Linked DNA regions of Homo sapiens: region 2 is linked to region 1. The links are contacts of gene promoters, found by promoter capture Hi-C in human tissues and cell types (Jung and others, 2019). All regions are on one chromosome and are shown on one strand. Each heading gives the region's core, a stretch centred on a gene start or on the middle of the fragment in contact. The rest is flanking DNA. Distances are from core to core; before and after follow the strand shown. Region 1 holds the start of NECAB2 (N-terminal EF-hand calcium binding protein 2). Region 2 has its middle 40 kb from the start of MLYCD.

Region 1 (4,259 bases), core at 1,213-3,712:
CTTCCTGCCTGGGGCAGGGGCTGACTTTGCAGTGGATCCTGACCAGCCGCTGAGCGCCAAGAGGAACCCCATTGACGTGGACCCCTTCACCTACCAGAGCACCCGCCAGGAGGGCCTGTACGCCATGGGGCCGCTGGCCGGGGACAACTTCGTGAGGTTTGTGCAGGGGGGCGCCTTGGCTGTGGCCAGCTCCCTGCTAAGGAAGGAGACCAGGAAGCCACCCTAACACTCGGCCAGACCCGCTGGCTCCCAGGCCCTGAGAGGACAGAGATGACCACATCCCTGCTGGATGCAGGACCCGTCCAAAGATGCCCCGGGGAGGGGTGTCAGCCCACGTTGCTGGCCTTTGGGGTCAAGAGGAGTAGGGATCCCAGGCTGCCCTGGACTTAGACCAGTGTCTGAGGTGGTAACAGCGGCCGCAGGCCAGGGTTGGCCTAGACCTGGGATTTGTGGGGAAAGCTGCTGGTGTGACCAGCTGAGCACCCAGCCAGGAGACCTGCAGCCCTGCGCCTTCCAGAAGCAGGTCCCAAATAAAGCCAGTGCCCACCTGCTCTCATGCGTCTGAGGACTCTGTGCTCGGAGGGAGCTGCGTTCCCGGAACCCTGCACTGGGCTGGGGGGAAGGGAGGAAAGGGGATTGTGGGAGGAGTCCTGGGGCATGTGGTCCTGGATGAGGTCCATGGCTGGGGCCTTGGGGTACAAAGGATGGTGCCCCAAGTGTGGGGGCAGTTGAGCGGGCAGCTGTACTAGAGTCTGGGGGTGGGAGTGGCGGGTGTGTGCAGGCAGTGATGTCCAGGAGGGCGCTGCAGCCCCGCCCCCTCCGCAGCCTGTCCCAGGCCTCCCTCCTCTCTGTTCTGCCATGCGGCCTCCTTTCAGTCCCTCCTGCTGGCCAGGTCTCTGCCTGCCCCAAGGCCTTTGCACAGAGAGTCCCCAGCCCAGGACAGTTTCCCGCCTTTCTTTAACTCCTTTTCCTTGGGATGTCTCAGCATAAGAATCACTTCCTCTAGGAAGCCTCTTCTGACACAAACCCCTCCACTGCCGTCACAGCAAATACTCCTTTCATGGTCTAAGGTGCTACCTTTTCATAGCAGTGCAGTTTTTTTTTCTTTTTTTTGAGACAGAGTCTCATTTTGTCACCCAGGCTGGAGTGCTGTGGCGCTTGGTTCACTACAACCTCTGCTTCTGGGTTGAAATGATTCTCCTGTCTCAGCCTCCCAAGTAGCTGGGATTACAGGTGACTGCCACCTCGCCCAGCTAGTTATTGTATTTTTAATAGAGACGGGGTTTCACCATGTTGGCCAGGCTGGTCTTGAACTCCTGACCTCAAGTGATCCGCCCTCTTTGGCTCCCCAAAGTGTTGGTATCACAGGCATGAGCCACCACACCCTTCCAGCAGTTCAGTTTTAATTGTTCATTTGTTTGTGGAATCATTTCAGTGTTTGGCTCTGCCCACTTGGATGTAAGCTCCAGGAGCTCTGGGAGACCAAGTACACCATCTGTTTTGCCCATTGCTGGAACTCCGTGGTTGGGCACCTGCCTGGCACCTAGTGGGTTCTCCTTAATTCATCTTTTAAATGGATGGGTGGATGGATGGATGGGAGGATGGGTGGGTGGGTGGACAGATGGATAGATGAGAGGATGGTTGGATGGATGGGAGGATGGTGGGTGGGTGGATGGATGGATGGATGGATGGGAGGGAGGGGGGTGGGTGGGTGGGTGGATGGATGGGAGGGAGGATGGATGGATGGATGGGAGGGAGGGAGGATAGATGGATGGATGGAAGGATGGTGGGTGGATGGATGGGAGGGTGTGTAGGTGGGTGGATGGATGGATGGATGAGAGGGTAGGGGGGTGGATAGATGGATAGATGGGAGGGTGGGTGGGTGGATGGACAGACAGATGGGCGGGCGGGCAGATGGATGGACGGATGGATGGATGGATGGATGGATGGATGGATGGATGGATGGGAGGGTGGATGGATGGATGGATGGAGGGTGGATGGATGGATGCCAGGGAGGGAGGATGAGTGGGTGGGTGAATGGATGGATGGATGGGAGGATGCTGGGTGGGTGGATGGATGGATGGATGAATGGTTGGGAGGGTGGGTGGATGGATGGACGGACAGTCGGCCGGCCGGATGGATGGATGGGAGGATGGGTGGATGGATGTATAGATGGATTGATGGACGGGTAGGCAGGTGGATGGATGGATGGATGGATGGACGGACAGGTGGGTGGGTGGATAGATGGATGGGTGGATGGAGTATGAAGGAAAGATGTTCTGGGGTGAAGACTGGTTCTGGGCGTTTTGTAACCAAGGGGGCGGCCTGAGGGGGCGTGCACGCCCGCGGGAGTTAAGGATGGGCGCCCGCGGGCGTGACGGGGCCGCGGGGCGTGGGCGCCGCTCCCCGGGGCTGGAGCCGGCAGAGGGCGCTCCGGGCTCGCTGGACACCCGCGCTTCGGCCTCTGCTGCGCGCCGCGAGTGGGAGGGGGGACTTTAGAAGCGGGGAGAGCAGGAGACTTTTGGGGAGCAGGCCCCAGGGGCGCCGCCCCGCCCCCAGGCCCCACATACCCCTCCCCTCCGGGTAGCCCCCTCTGTGGCTGCGCCCGCGCCCCTCGCCCCGGCGGGCAGTCCTCAGGCCCCGCGCCCGGCCGGCGGGGGTGGGGGCGGCGGGGAGCGGGCACGTGGCTCGGGGTCCGGCCGGCCCGCCCCCCGGCGCCGGCCAGTCCCCGCGGTGTCCGCGGCCGCGGGGGCAGCGGGAGAGAGGGCGGGGCGGCGCGGGCAGCGCGGGGAGGGGGTCGCGCGGGGGCGGGCCGCAGCTGGGCGGGGGTCGGCGGGCTTCCGGGCGGCGGCGGCGGGCGCGGCGCGATGTGCGAGCGGGCGGCGCGCCTGTGCAGGGCCGGCGCGCACAGGCTGCTCCGGGAGCCGCCGCAGCAGGGCCGGGCGCTGGGCGGGCTGCTGCGCTGGGTGGGCGCCAGGATGGGCGAGCCCCGGGAGTCGCTGGCCCCCGCCGCCCCCGCGGACCCCGGCCCAGCCTCGCCGCGCGGGGGCACCGCCGTCATCCTGGACGTGAGTACGCGCCGGCCGGGACCCCCGCCGTGGCCTCCGCTGGGACCCGGAGCCCCCTCCGCCCCTCGGGCGGACCCCGACGCCGCGACCCGCGAGGCCCTCCCTACCCGGGCAGGAGACCCCCGGCCCCTCCGCGTGCCGGAGCGGGAGCCCCCAGCCCCGCCACGTCCAGGCCGGTCTCCAGCCCAGTCCTCTCCCTGGACCGGGAGACCCCCCTCCTCCGCCCCTCCACCGGCGCTTCTCGGAGTCCCTGCCTGCCCACAGTGGGGAGCCGTGAGCCCCCGGACCCGGCCACTGTCCCCCTAGTTTTGTCCAAGCCAAACCCCCACCCTTTACCCCGCGGGACCGGAGCCCCTCGCCGCGTCCAGCCGCCTCCTCCTCTCCATCCCGGATCCTGTCCGGAGCGATACTTTTCTGAGACCCCTAACAACCCCTACCTCTAGCCCACCTCTCTTCGCCCTAGACCCTGAGCCCCCGTTCATCTCACGCTCAAAGACCCTTTGCCCCAGCTACTGCCACTTTAAAAGTGAAGCCCCCTCCCCACCTTCTGTCTTCTCGTCTCCTTTCCATTGAGCCAGAGCCATCGCCCATCAGCCCTGAGCTGGTACCCCTCTGGTCTTCCCCACCCCGCCCCCTTCCATTCCAAGTCCTCTGTTCCCTTCCCCACACCCCTCTACCCTACAGAGAGCTGGGTCCTCTTCATGGACCAGACTCACCCCTCACCCCTCCTAACTCCCCTGGGACCCAAATCACCCATCTCTGGGAAGCCCACCTCACCCTCCCACCCGCCCCACCCGGGAGGGAGGAATCTTCAGGGGGCGGCTCGGAGGAGGAGGACTTCTCCCAGCAGAGAGTGCTAGGAGGAGGTGGAGGAGGCTTCTGGGGATGTTGACTGCGTGTTTCAGCGAGGGTCCTGCTGGGGTGGGGCTGGGGGCTGCCTCTGCCTGTGTGGTGGATTTCTGGGAGAGTGGTGGGTGTGTGTGAATGTGCACACGCGTGTATCGCGGATCCCTGTGAGTCGGGGGATTCCCTCCCTTCCTCTCTCCTCTTCCCTGCTCCTGGAACCCTTGGCCGGGGTCTGGGCTGGGAGGGCCGGCCAGAGCAGGGGGAGCTCTAGAGTGCCACACTCGCAGGCACACATTCACACACTCACGCACTCGCTTACGCACGCACACACAGCCAGAGACACAC
Region 2 (4,259 bases), core at 1,087-3,586, 110 kb before region 1:
GTTTGTTTAATTAAACAACAAGAGAATGGTACAAAAATCAATACTCAATTCCATTCTCAAAGCCAAAGACACCCAAATTTTGCATAGGTCATGGGTGCTTCAGATGAACACGCTCCCAGATAACAAGCCAAGTAGCCGTCCCTCAACCTACCCTGGCCTCTTCATTTGGTTCTGGCTTGGAAAAATGGAGCCATTAGCTGCGTTAGTGAGGGTGAAGAAATCAATAATGAGCCAATTATTGATAGGCATATGCCGTTAAACAGACTGAAAAAATAACCCGAGGGCTTTAGGAGAATGATTGCTGTGTTCCTTAGAGCAATGGCCACACAATTCCAGCTTTCAATTCCTGGTGCCATATTCACCAAGATTTATGGGGCTTTTGTAATACCTAATTGGGATTGGTAACAATACCCGAGCCTCCACCCCGTGGAATGTTTTAGGCATTTATCAAAGCCAGATGAAAAGGAAGGAGGAAATAAAATCACACTCAATCCTAGAAATATAGGGAAGGGCCCTGGGGGCAATTGAAGGCCTGCCCTGCACTATATAGAAATTGTCTCCTTTAATCCTCACAATCAATGTATTGCTTCTCTCTTGAAGGTGGTGAAAATGAGGCTCAGAGAGGTGAACTTGACCAGTGTAACTCAGCTGAAGAGTGGTAGGATGGAGATTCGAAAGAACGTCTGATTTAAAAGGCCACGCCCCTCCTACTGAACCTCATTCCAGATTTTCTAAAAGCCCTGATATTTTCTTTATGCCAATAAAATGCTCATAGACTGGGCAGGGCAACAAGATAAGGAAGAAGGGGAAGGGGCTCGATAAGAGTATGATTTGCAGCCAGGCGCAGTGGCTCACGCCTGTAATCCCAGCACTTTGGGAGGCCGAGGCGGGTGGATCGCAGGTCAGGAGTTCGAGACCAGCCTGGCCAACATGGTGAAACCCTGTCTCTAATAAAAATACAAAAATTAGCTGGGTGTGGTGACACATGCCTGTAATCCTAGCTACTCAGGAGGCTGAGGCAGGAGAATTGCTTGAACCTGGGAGACAGAGGTTGCAGTGAGCTGAGACCACACCATTGCACTCTAGCCTGGGCGACAGAGCAAGACTCCATCTCAGAAAAAAAAAAAAAAGTATGATTTGCAAGTCAGGTATAACACGTCAAGAACAACTGCCCCTCCAACAGTACTATTCCCTCCCTTCATCTGGACCTAATACCTTACTTAATACAACCATTCGTCACATTTACTTTATCGCCACCACATCCCATTGCTGGTCTGAAAGTGCCTAAACCTCCCACCGATATTCCGTAGGAATTTCTGTTAAGGTAGGCCTCCCCCATCCTATTTTTGTGGGGGTTGGGAAGTATTATGAGACTACTTCTTAGCATTCACACTCTTTTGATTTACTCCAGCAGGTCTCCAACTTGCCTTTCCACCTGCTAAGATTTTTTGAATCTTAATTCTGCCATCCAGAGTAAGAGCCCTCTCTTTGTTCTATGTAATCTCCAGATCTGATAAATATGCTTGTTTCAACCAAGACAGGCAGACAGATGAGTGTGCACATGAAAATAAACCATCAAGAATGACTTCTGTGCAACATGCCGGCACTTAGCCAAGATGGGCAAATCCCTGCCAAAGTTCTCTAACTCCTTCTTCCAGTGCGTTCTAACCAGTAATGGTGCAAAGCTCCTGTCCGTCTAAGTATCCAAGGCACTTTCTTTAGCCTGTTATAATCCTTGACTGCAAGCCCCCTGAAGGCAGGGGTTGTGTCAGGTTTTGCTCACCCCTGGGTCCCCAACACCCAGCCTACACAAGTGTGCACACAGATAGGTGACGAATGAATGAAGGGATGAAGACATGATGCTGTGGTGTCACTCCTCACTCTCCACCCACACTGTACATCCATCAGGGTGGTATGTTTGCATGTAGCCACTCCTATTGGGTTTTTAGTGGTGATTCTTGAATGGGAAAGTTGTCACCTACCCCGGGGGGGACTTTGGAAGTTTGTGGGGAGTTTTCTGCTTGTCACAATGCCTGGCATGAACAGTGGCCTTCAGGGGGATGCTAGATATTCTGCAATGCACTGAACAGTCACAAAGAAGACATAGTCGCTCATGTCCTGCAAGACCCTCTGTTATTTCAACAGGCATCCATGAAAGAGGACAGTTCTGTTTGCAGGGCATCTTTTACACAGTTTTAATGTACATAGAATACACTAGTTTATACTTTAATGTGAACGAGTGCACAGGTGAGCGGGAAAGATGTAGCAGAGACCTACAAAGGAACCTCCTTCTGGATACAAAAAAACAATGGAGTATGCAATGGGAACGGATAAGAGGAACTCAGAGCCCTCCAAGTGGACAGGGGAAGGGTTCCTTGAGGAAGTGATGCTGGAGCAGGGAAGGTTTAACGCAGAGTAGGTATTCATGAGGGGAGGGGAAAGCAGAGTGAGTCAGGCAGAGGCAACAGCATGTGTAAAGGCCCTACAGCAAGTGGGACAAGACATTTCAGACAGATTATTATTTTTTTCATTCTGCCTTCTGTTGTTGCTGATTTATGTTCAGGTCTGATCCCCACATTGGGTTGAAAGCTTCTCAAAGCCAAGACCATATCTTAGCCATCACTCTATCCTTCCCGGACCTTGCACGGTAACCAGAACCCAATACACACTCAAAATATGTTAGTTGTCATTGATGCGCAGGCAGGAGATACTCTAAAGACCAGTCCATCCTGGGGGAGGGGTAGCAATCAAGGCTCCCAGGTCTCCTACTGCTTCTTTCTTTTGATAAATTGCAAGCGGGAGATCAGCTGATCAGGAAGACCTTCCTGCAGTGATCAATAGAACTTGATTCCCTAGCATTACCTGAAACATGTGACATGTGACCCACACGTGATCAAGGGTAAGCACAGGTCTGAATGACACTGATTTCAATACAAATGAGGTAACTCGACCTCAGACACAGCACTGTATTTTGTTTTTGTTGTTCCGTTTGTTTGTTTTGAGACAAGGTCTTGCCGTGTCACCCAGACTGGGGTGCAGTGGCACAATCACGGCTCACTGCAGCCTCAATCTCCCGGGCTCAAGCAGTCCTCTTGCCTCAGCTTCTTGAGTAGCTGGTACTATAAAAGCTCATATAATTTCGTATACGCCCAGCTAATTTCTTATTTTTTTGTAGAGACGAGGTCTCACTGTGTTGCCCAGGCTGGTACCAAACTCCCGAGCTCAAGCGATCCTCCCACCTCGGCCTCCAAAAGTGCTGGGGTGATCAGCATGAGGCACCATGTCCAGCCCAGCCCTCTATTTTGCAATGGAACTATTTAAGATGCAGAGAGGAGTGGAGAGGAGGGGTTACAACCAGCTGTCAAGGCCACTCTGCTCATGGTTGGCTTTGGGGCTTCAGAGGAGGAGGAGCCGGTCTTTGTCCTCTGTTTCTTATTCCCTCTAAGGAAACTAAAGGGCTTCTTCAGACAGAAAGAACTACTGAGGGACGAGGAAAATGTTCCAGGGCCTCTTGATGCCACCCCACAGGCTTTGAAATGCTCACTATTACCCAATCATAAAGAAAATGCCATTTTGGAGATCTCTGTGTTAATTACCATCATTGGAGAGACATTATCTATATTTACATAATAGCTTCCCAGGTTTTCCTAGTTTTGAGTCAAGCTAACAAATTTGTAGCTATTATGGAACACAAATTGCTCTGGTATGTTTTAAATTCTGCAAATGGAAAACCTTGCCTGTTGAGGGAGGTGGCTAGACCCCAGAACAATTAGTGTCTAATAATTCGTTAATGTCGGAGATGCTCAAAGATACAGTTTTAAATGCCTACCTTAATGTCTTACGTGCAAAAAGAAAGGCATTTGAAGAAGCCATCGTCGGGTTAGGCACATTAATACGATTAAATAATTTTGTGAAATGTAAAAAGCTCCTGTTACGTCTCTAAAAAGGGACAAATGAAGCCAGCATCCTTATTTTTATCACTTAATTTCCCTGCTTGAATACAAATGATTGGCTGATAATTGCTAATTGTGGAGGGAGGCAGGTGGAGGACCGCTGGATTGAGGGGAGAGGTCAAGGGTTGAAACACCCCTAACTGGGAGTGCACGTGGTGAAGGCTGGTCACCAGGCCTGCCCAGGGCACCTGTGCTGGAGAAGTCACCGTACTGCTTGGTCTGAGCTCCTGCAAGCTCCAAGATGTGAGCTTATCAAAACCTGGTGAGGACTCACTTGACTAGGGTCAGAGAAGCTAGCGCAATCAT

What was found. The method cuts DNA at HindIII sites, captures the fragments that hold promoters and counts their contacts. A contact is called where the count stands out against the background at its distance.
Region 2: a contact is called between a fragment that was not itself captured here and the fragment with the promoter of NECAB2 in region 1, in 2 of the 25 tissues and cell types used here (heart left ventricle and liver).

The regions. Positions count from the first base shown.
Region 1 is chr16:83,965,782-83,970,040 of GRCh38, forward strand. NECAB2 (N-terminal EF-hand calcium binding protein 2) reads left to right here and starts at 2,463. Exons shown (of 13, transcript NM_019065.3): 1 at 2,463-3,068. The coding sequence starts at 2,868. It overlaps OSGIN1 (oxidative stress induced growth inhibitor 1), which reads left to right. Exons shown (of 6, transcript NM_182981.3): 6 at 1-551. The coding sequence ends at 226. RefSeq lists a silencer at 2,339-2,528. The HindIII fragment of the contact is 17,829 bases long and covers 1-4,259 here.
Region 2 is chr16:83,856,580-83,860,838 of GRCh38, forward strand. No RefSeq gene overlaps it. Among named protein-coding and RNA genes, the nearest start is that of MLYCD, 40 kb to the right of the region's middle. The HindIII fragment of the contact is 7,456 bases long and covers 1-4,259 here.